Linked DNA regions of Homo sapiens: regions 2 and 3 are each linked to region 1. The links are contacts of gene promoters, found by promoter capture Hi-C in human tissues and cell types (Jung and others, 2019). All regions are on one chromosome and are shown on one strand. The core of a region is centred on a gene start or on the middle of the fragment in contact, and the rest is flanking DNA. Distances in the headings are between cores, read along the strand shown. Region 1 holds the start of TPBG (trophoblast glycoprotein). Region 2 has its middle 69 kb from the start of TPBG. Region 3 has its middle 92 kb from the start of TPBG.

Region 1 (3,222 bases), core at 442-2,941:
GTGGTTCAGGATCAGTTCCACAAGGGGACTGGGGGCCGAGACGCTGGCATTGCTGCCCGAGAAAGCGAAGGGACTGAGGTCGGCCAGTGGGTTGTGGCTGAGGTCGAGCTGGCGCAGGCTGGGCAGATGCTCGAAGGCGCCCGCGCGCACCTCGTCCAGGCGGCTGCCGCTGAGGTTGAGCGCGGCCAGCTCCGCCAGCGGCGGCCGGCGGGCGAAGGCGCCGGCAGGGAGCACGGCCAGCTGGTTGCCGGTAAGGAAGAGGTTGCGCACGTAGGCGGGCAGGTCCGTGGGCACCTCGGTCAGATTGCGGTTAACGCACTTGACTGTGCGCGCTGCCTCGGAGCACTCGCACAGCGCGGGGCACTGGTCCGGCAGCGGGGGCTGGGCGGACACGGCGGAAGCCAGGAACGGCGCCGAGGAGGAGAAGGAGGATGCCGAGGAGGTGGGAGAAGACGAGGAGACCCAGCCCAGGAGTACCAGCGCTAGTCGCGCCAGCCGCAGACGCCCGTCCCCGGCGGCGGGGCCCCGGGAGCACCCCCCAGGCATCGCGGCTCGCGTTTCCCCGGAGCTGGGCTGGGACGGCGCCCGCTCCGAAGGCTCGGGAGGCTGGGCCCGGAGGGCGCGAGCCGGCGGAAGCGTCTGGAAAAAAAAAACTTTCCTCTCGTGGAACCGAGGGAGTGGCGCCGCAGCCGGAACTTGGCTAACCCCCTCGCCACCGGGCGCTTCCCTCAGGGGCCGATTCCCCCGCCCCTTCCCTCCAGAAAGTACGCACGGCGGGTCGGGACGCTCCGCTCCGCGCTCCTGCTCCCGCTCCTCTTCCTGCCGCCGCCCTGGTGCCACCTCTTCGCCTCTTGTTGGCGCCCCTCGCTGGATCCTCTGAGGGACCTGGGACAAGCAGGAGAGAGGCGTGAACAGCGGTGGCTGCCGCGGCTTCCGGAGTGCAAAAACCGGCCTTTTCGAGTCTAGTCGTCTCCAGTCTGTCCCAGAGACCTCCTTCCAAAAGCCCGCCCCGGCCTCGCCTCCCCAACCCCTCCGGTCACTTTTACTCCGGAGGGGGACGCGCATCCGACACCCAGACCGCAAAGTCTTCCTTCTTCCCTGGCCCACACTAAATAAACCCGACCGGCCTCCCGCCCTCCGCCTTTCCCGAGGAGACTCGTCTCCCGCGTCTAACTTACCGCTTAATCCCCAATTCCTTCCCTACCAAACTTCTCCCTCTCCCGTTCCTTCCTGCACCGCCTCGGCGGAAGGTCGGCCTCCGGGTGTCTCCGCCCCCGCCCAGACCTCTCCACCAGGTCCCGGTTAGGATGCGAGGGAAGTTTCAGGTTACAGGACTTTTTGATCTCTTTTTGTACCTTCTCGCATTAGCAGGAAGTGGAGCTACAACTGTCGCCCCCCAGCCCGCGCCCCGCCAGCCCCTCGGATCTCAAAGGGGTTCAAGTCATCTCCAAAGAGGAGGGGAGAGTCTGGGAACAAAGCAGCAGTGGGACTCGGGGTACAGTGGCAACCCGAACCAACCCTACTCTCCACCCGAGGATGGGGAGGGGCCCCAACGACGCCTCCCGGGTCTCTCCCAGGCCGCGGGCTCCCACTGCTCACCTCCGCGTCCGCCGCCTCCAGAACCAACTCTGAGTTCCACCAGAGTAGCGACGACTTCCCGGCTCCGCGTTGCGGGCGCCGACTCTCTTCGCACCCCAGCCCCTGGCCCAACCTCCCAACCTCCGCAGCTGGGAAAAACCAACCCGGGGGGCGGGGGAGGGCCAGGACTGTCGGGGAGATTCCCGACGCGCGGCCAACCTCGGCAGCCGTAGGTAGGGGGATTTAAGAAGAGAGACTAGGGGAGCTGGGCTGCGCGCCTCCTCCTGGTGGAAATTAACGAGGAATGTGCCGGAAAAGGTGAGGGAATCCCTTTCTCTCCCCCCTCCCCGACATCCTTGGGTGGTTCCTCATTTTGCATACTGTATTTACCTTGGACTGGAGCAAAACCGCTGGTGAATCTCGTGGAATTCACCCTGATTCAGGCACCTTTGGCAGTGACGAGATAGATTTAGGCATGACAGAGCAGCGCGAAGCAGCAGCAGAAAGAAATGAGCTGAAAATCTACTGCGGCAGCAGCAAAGGCACGGCAGGTTGTATGGAAGCTTCAGAAGCTCTCCCCATCAAAGTGGTACTTGAGGCCGCAAACTTCAGATTTAGGTGTAATTAATGCCTTCCCGCCTGTCCCCCCCGCCCCCTCACTTCTTGGGTAGTGATGGAACTTGTGAAGAGAGCGCGCCAACTTTAAGAGAGAGAGAGAGAGAAAGAAAAAAAAAAGATTAGTGGAGAGGAGATTCATTCCTGATTCATTAGCTTTTCTCTTACCAAAATTAAAAGCAGATGGAAGAGAAAGGCAGCCAAAGGCATCCCAGAAACAAAAGGCAAATAGCAAAGACTTGAGTCTCCCGGAAAGCGGACCCGCCCCCCTCCCCAGATGTAGCGCGGTGTGTCAAGTCACTTCTGTGGAGAAAGCTCCAAGGATGAGGAGTGGGGATTGCAGGAGCTGACCTGGGAGAGAAGTTTGGTTTCAAAGTCGATTGTCCCAGGGGGCATCTGGCAGATGGTGATGGAGAGGATGGGGTTGGGGAGAGGGACAAATTGAATGGTTGGTTACCGGAAGGATCTGTTATTATACCAGACAGGTTTTGGGTTCTGAAAGCCCTATCGTTGCTCTCTGTAACTCCACATCCCCTTTGTCCCAATTAAATAATTTCCCCGAAGGGATAAGAAGGTTCTTCCAGGCTTCTTCATTTTAGAGAGAAAATGGCAATTAGGGAAAACATGGTTCGGAAATTTAAGACCTGGTCGTATTAAAAAAGATCAAATAAGGATCCTGAGGCTTGTGCCTGGGACATGTGCCTTTAGTGTGAAGAAAGACCCCAACTCTCCAACGGACGCCTGATTACTTTTATAGAAAGAGATAGTCTGCAAAGCCGACAGCAAAAATGGCTCAGACAAAAGCTGAAAACACTGGAAACTGCAGAGATTTGTGCACAAAAGCTGGTTTCATTAATTTGCATCTTCAGCACGTTTATCTACATCTCTTTTCTTATTTTTAAAAGTGTTTTGCAACATGAATGTAAAACACTTTGAAAAAGAATCTCTAAAGCTGTAGTCATGTTCTGTATCCGGATTGTGGTGGTGGTTACATAAACCTATACAACGTGTTATAACTCATAGAACTTT
Region 2 (2,857 bases), core at 195-2,694, 69 kb before region 1:
TGCCCAGGGAGTGTGTCAAATGAGAAGAGGAAGAAGAGCATAAGGGAGATGCCAAGTAAAGTAGGACCAAAATGTGTTCACTGGATTGATTCTGCAAGGTCATGAGCAATCTTTGCAAGAGCAATTTCCAAGAAGTACAGTAGATGCAGGCAGATTGCAGTGGGAATCAATACATTAGGGAAAGGAGGTGTCTTTATAATCAGTTGCCTGCAGGTACCTGTGGGTTTTATGTGCCAGCCAGTTATAGCGTCAGGGGTGGGAAAACTGCACATGCTCTTCACTGAAAATGAAAAGATGATGGTGTCAGGACTCTGGATATTTGGAGACATTTGCCTTGAGAGTTGAAGGAAATTTATAATACCTGCATTATTTGTTTAAACTCTAAGGGATAGCAAACCTATTTCAGATACAGTGATTTTTTTTCTACCTATCTGTAAGATTCAAATAATTTGAATGAAGAAAAGCTTTATGGGACTATTTACTTTGAATTTATCATTTATCAGGAAATGGGAAAATCCTAACTTTGTCGTGGTTTTTATAAAAGAGTGGTGGTGTATGTATGTGTAAGGGATGGCATAGGTAGGCAGTGAAGACACAGAGAGGGTAAGTATAGATACTGGCTAGCTCTTTTGTGTCCAGTGAGAATGCTGATAATATGGCATTTCCAAAGCAATGGAAATGTATTGTATTCCCAAAAGAGATGGGGATACACAGCCGAATCTGCCATATTACCTGAAAATATCTCCAACTGAGTTAGAGAGTTGGGTCACTATGACTCTGTCTCTGGGTAATCCATTGATGAAAAGGAGGGCCCAGTGCTGCATTACCATTAGGAACTGGTTGGAGGGGAGATTATGGCAAGAGAATGTGTTGGAAATAAGTTCATGCAGTCAGTAGGTATCTCTTTTCCTGTATCTTGATGCAGTTTCCCTTAGTCATCTCTCTTGGAAATCATCAAAATAATGACACTGATTTATAATATTTAACAGTTCAGGAGCTCCACATCCCATAGTTGGCATTTCTTGCTAACTGAAAAGGGAGAACTTGGGGGTTGAAGGTAGAACCTGGGTTTCCTATAACAAAATGCATTTCTTAAGGCATAATAAGAGGTTCATTCTTTTCAAGACTCTGGGTATTAAACATTCCAATGTTCTATTTAGGGGTTCAGTGAGAATAATTATTGAAATCTCTCCTGTGAGGAAAGTATAATAAAGAAGTTTCCAGTTTTTGCAGTGTCGCCAAATAAGGTTTGCTAAACAATGTATGTGTATTTATAAGGGACCAATATAAATTCTTAATTAAGTTGTATAATGGAGTCATCGTTAATCTTTATCCTAGCTCAAAGGATTTGAAGTTGCTTCACCTAAATGTTTTTTGTTGTTGTTCTGTGGGTGTTCTGAAATGTTGAGGAAAGCTACCCACTCAGAGAAGGTCTCATAAAGCCTAGGGGCACAGATAAGCAACCGTCCTGGTACCTGGCCTCTGCAGAGGTGCTTGCTGATGACATATCAATGAAAGGAGCAACAAACAAGATCCCTGGGTGTAGATTGCCCATGCATGTAAGAAGCATGACCCATGCTGGCAAGGCTGTAGACAGCCAGGTCAGGGCTTGCAAGGCCAATGATGGCCACGCTTGCAGGAATGAAGGATGGTGCTCAGCTCCCTTCCCATTTGTGAACATTTGAACACTGCCCCTCATGGTGTCCTTGGTGGCTTTCATGCCATATGTGAGGTGCAGGAGTCCTGGCAAGGTCACCCATGAGGCCTTCTACCTATACATTTTCACAGTCCTTTCTTCTATAGAGTGTTGCAGCTCTCTACTTCTTCCCCACGCTCCACCTCAGCCTGAGGGAATATTTTCTAGCCTGGGACAAATCCTCCTCTTTTCTGCCTGCATTTTGAACGGAGATACAAATTTCTGTTCTTTTAAGTCTCTTGTGAAAAAAAGAAATCCTTCTTACCATCAAACCCAGAGCTTTAATTAATCAGAAGCCAGTTCTCCTTTTCATAGAGGGCAAAGACAGTTTAAACTTTAAGCCCTTCCAGAACAGTCAAGATAGAGGGGAAAAACAAAATAGCTAATTGCCGTATTAAAGCAGCTTGTTAATATCCTGCCTACGTAGCAAAAATCTATGTTGTGTGTTTTGTCAGAGTTTAAGCCTATGGAAGACCCAAGCCAACATATTACTTAGGAAAAAATAGACATATCACTGGAAAATGTACATAAACTGATTGGTTTTGCGCAGGCAAACATGCAGGTTATGAATTCGGCATTTGCAGGTTATAAATTCAGCATTTCCCTTCATAATTCACAGGCAGGCATCGTAATGGTTTTCTTTCTTTCTTTTCTTTTCTTTTTTGTAGATTTGAGTTAAAGGCCTCTATTTGACTCACCCCTGTTGTCATTTTACATCAAAATGTTAAAATGCCAGATTTGGGGTAACTAAGCCATGGTATACCTGTTTCATTCACAAAGGAGTCTAAAGGTTTTTGCAGAAGGATCAAATACTATTTAGACTAAACTATAAAAAGTAAGTGCTTGATGGAAGAGACCTCATCCTGGTGTCCCACCTGCTTTAATATTGATTCAATAGCAACCTTCATCTTTAATATTTAAAAAGTCAACATTTGATTTTGATAGTAGAGTGGCCTGGAGCCTGGTGCGCCTTCTCTCTGGGGTGTGCTCTGCTTGCAACTGACATGCTTTCCTCTCATAGGTCAATCCATAAGTTTTGTTTTTGGCAGGCAACAAAGAAGAAAGAAATAACACATTTCACTTTCACTGTGTCAAGAATTCTTATCAAGAGTGTTTTCACATTGTTGAGCAAAATAAAAAGAATACCACTTTTTAAAACTC
Region 3 (3,220 bases), core at 285-2,784, 93 kb before region 1:
AACATGGAAATGAAAGAATGATACCTCCTACCATGAAAACACACTTGAATACATAGCCCACAGACCCTATAAAGCAGCCACACAATATAAACTACAAAGCAACCAGCTAGGAACTTCATGATAGGATCAAATGTCACATTTCAGTATTAACTTTGAATGTAAATGGTTTAAACACCTCACTTAAAAGGCACAGAGTGGCAAGTTTGATTAAAAACAAAATGTAAGAACTATCTATCTGGTGTCTTCAAGAAACCTATCTCACACATAAAAAAAAAAAAAACCCATGAGCTTAAAGAGTTGGAGAAAGATCTACTATGCAAACAGAAAACAAAAAGGAGCAGAGGTGACTATTCTTACATCAGATAAGACAGACTTTAAACCAACAACAGTAGAAAAAAACAAAGAAGGGTATTACACAATGATAAAGGGTTCAATTCAGCAAGAAATCTTAACTATCCTAAATATATATGCACCCAACAATGGAGCATCCAGATTACTAAAGCAAATACCTCTAGACTTATGGAAAGACTTATATAGCCACACAGTAATAGCAGGGGACTTTCATACCCCATTGACAGCATTAGACAGATCATTTAGGCAGAAAACTAACAAAGACATTCTGGACTTAAAAACTCAACACTTGACCAACTAGGCCTAGCAGACATCTACAGAATACTCCACCATTAACTATACAATATACATTCTTCTCATCTGCACATGGAAAATACTCTAAGATTGACTACATACCCAGCCATAAAGCAAGTTTCAACAAATTTAAAAAATTGAAAACACAACAACGATAATCTCAGAACACAGTGGAATAAAAATAGAAATCAATACCAAGAAGGTCTCTCAAAACCACACAATTAGATGGAAATTAAATGAAAGAATGATACCTGCTACAACAAAAATACACTTAACTTGCTCCTGAATGACTTTTGGGCAAACAAGAAAATTAATTCTTTGAAATAAATGAAAACAGAGACACAACATACCAAAATCTCTGGAATGCAGTAAAAACAGGGTTAAGAGGAAAGTTTATTCCACTAAATGCCTATGTCTAAACATTAGATCTCGGCCAGGCGCGGTGGCTCACACCTGTAATCCCAGCACTTTGGGAGGCTGAGGTGGGCGGATCACAAGGTCAGGAGATCGAGACCATCCTGGCTAACACGGTGAAACCCCATCTCTACTAAAAAAAAAAAAAAATACAAAAAATTAGCCAGGCATGGTAGCAGGCACCTGTAGTACCAGCTACTCAGGAGGCTGAGGCAGGAGAATGGCGTGAACCCAGGAGATAGAGCTTGCAGTGAGCCAAGATTGTGCCACTGCACTCTGGCCTGGGCAACAGAGCGAGACTCTGTCTTAAAAAAAAAAAGAAAAAAAAAGTTAGATCTCAAATTAATGATCTAACATCACTGCCAGAGGAACTAGAAAAGCAGAAACAAACCCCAACACTAGCAGAAGAAAAGAAATGACTAAAATCGAAGTGGACCTGAACAAAATTGAAACTCAAAAATCCATAAAAATAATCAACAAAACCAAAAATTGGTCATTTGAAAGGATAAACAAGATTGATAGACCACTAGCTAGATTAATAAAGAAAAAAAGAGAGAAGATCCAAATAAGCACAATCAGAAATGACAAAGGTGACATTACAACTGATCCCACAGAAATATAAAATATCCTCAGAGACTATTAGGAACACCTTTATGCACATAATCTAGAAAATCTAGAGTTAATAAATAAATTCTCGGAAACACACTATCTCCCATGATTGAATCAGGAAGAAACTGAAACTCTGAACAGACCAATATCAAATTCCAAAGTTGAATTGCAATTTAAAAAACCTACCAACCAAAAAAAAAAAAAACCCAGACCAGAAGGATTCACAGCCAAATTCTACCAGACATACAAAGAAGAGTTTGTCCCAATTCTACTGAAACTATTCAAAAAAAATTGAGGACGAGGGACTCCTCCCTAGCTCATTCTACAAAGACAGCATCACCCTAATACCAAAATCTGGCAAAGACACAATGAAAAAGGAAAACTATATTCCAATATTCCTGATGAACGTAGATGAAAGAATCCTCAGCAAAATACTAGCAAATAGAATCCAACAGCACATCAAAAAATCAATTCACCATGATCAAGTAGTGTTCATTCCTGGCATGCAAGGTTGGTTCAACATATGCAAATCAATAAATGTGATTCACCATAAACAGAATTCAAAATACAATTGAAAGCTTTATCAATAAACCATGATAAAGGTTTTATGTGATTCACATAAACAGAATTTTTAAAAAACATATGATCATCTCAATAGATGTGGAAAAAACTTTTGATAAAATCCAATATCTCTTTATGATAAAAACCCTCAATAAACTACACATCAAAGGATCATACCTCAAAGTAATAAGAGCCATCTATGTCAGTTTTTGCAGAACTAGAAAATCTATTCTAAAATTCATATAGAACCAAAAAACAGCCCCAAACAGCCAAAGCAATCCTAAGCAAAAATAACAAAGCCAAAGGCATCACATTACCCAACTTCAAAATATACTGTAAGGTTACAAAAATAAAAACAGCATTATATTGGTACGAAAATGGACACATAGACCAGTAGAACAGAATAGAGAGCCCAGAAATAAAGCCACACACCTACAGCCATCTGATGTTTGACAAAACCAATAAAAATAATCAATGGGGAAAGGACTCCCTATTCAATAAATGGTGCTAGGATAACTGGCAGCCATATGCAGAAGAATGAAATTGGATCCCTACCTTTCACCATATGCAAAAATCAACTCAAGATAGATTAAAGATTTAAATGTAAGATCTCAAACTGTAAGAATCCATGAAGATTACCTAGGAAACACCATTTTGGACATCAGCCTTGGAAAATAATTTATGATTAAGTCCTCAAAAGCAGTTGCAACTAAAACAAAAATGGACAAGTGGGATCTAATTAAACTAAAGAGTTTCTGCTATACAAAAGAAACTATCAACAGAGTAAAAAGAATGGGAGAAAATATTGGCAAACTATGCATTTGATAAAGGTCTGATATCCAGAATCTCTAAGGAACTTAAACAAACGAACAAGCAAAAAACAACCGCATTAAATAATAGCAAATGACACGGACGTGTCTCAAAAGAAGACATATAAGCACCCAACAAATCTATGAACAAGTGCTCCACATCACTAACCATCAGATAAATA

Evidence for each region. The method cuts DNA at HindIII sites, captures the fragments that hold promoters and counts their contacts. A contact is called where the count stands out against the background at its distance.
Region 2: a fragment that was not itself captured here is called in contact with the fragment with the promoter of TPBG in region 1 in 3 of the 25 tissues and cell types used here (dorsolateral prefrontal cortex, hippocampus and spleen).
Region 3: a fragment that was not itself captured here is called in contact with the fragment with the promoter of TPBG in region 1 in 2 of the 25 tissues and cell types used here (H1 embryonic stem cells and aorta).

What each region holds. Positions count from the first base shown.
Region 1 is chr6:82,362,286-82,365,507 of GRCh38, reverse strand. It overlaps TPBG (trophoblast glycoprotein), which reads right to left and starts at 1,691. Exons shown (of 2, transcript NM_001376922.1): 1 at 1,600-1,691; 2 at 1-885. The coding sequence starts at 546. It overlaps LOC105377875 (a long non-coding RNA gene), which reads left to right and starts at 1,851. Exons shown (of 3, transcript XR_942738.4): 1 at 1,851-1,896. RefSeq lists enhancers at 1-178, 179-1,081, 1,233-1,744, 1,745-2,258 and a silencer at 131-210. The HindIII fragment of the contact is 6,837 bases long and covers 687-3,222 here.
Region 2 is chr6:82,431,508-82,434,364 of GRCh38, reverse strand. No RefSeq gene overlaps it. Among named protein-coding and RNA genes, the nearest start is that of TPBG, 69 kb to the right of the region's middle. The HindIII fragment of the contact is 7,212 bases long and covers 1-2,857 here.
Region 3 is chr6:82,454,671-82,457,890 of GRCh38, reverse strand. No RefSeq gene overlaps it. Among named protein-coding and RNA genes, the nearest start is that of TPBG, 92 kb to the right of the region's middle. The HindIII fragment of the contact is 4,770 bases long and covers 1-3,220 here.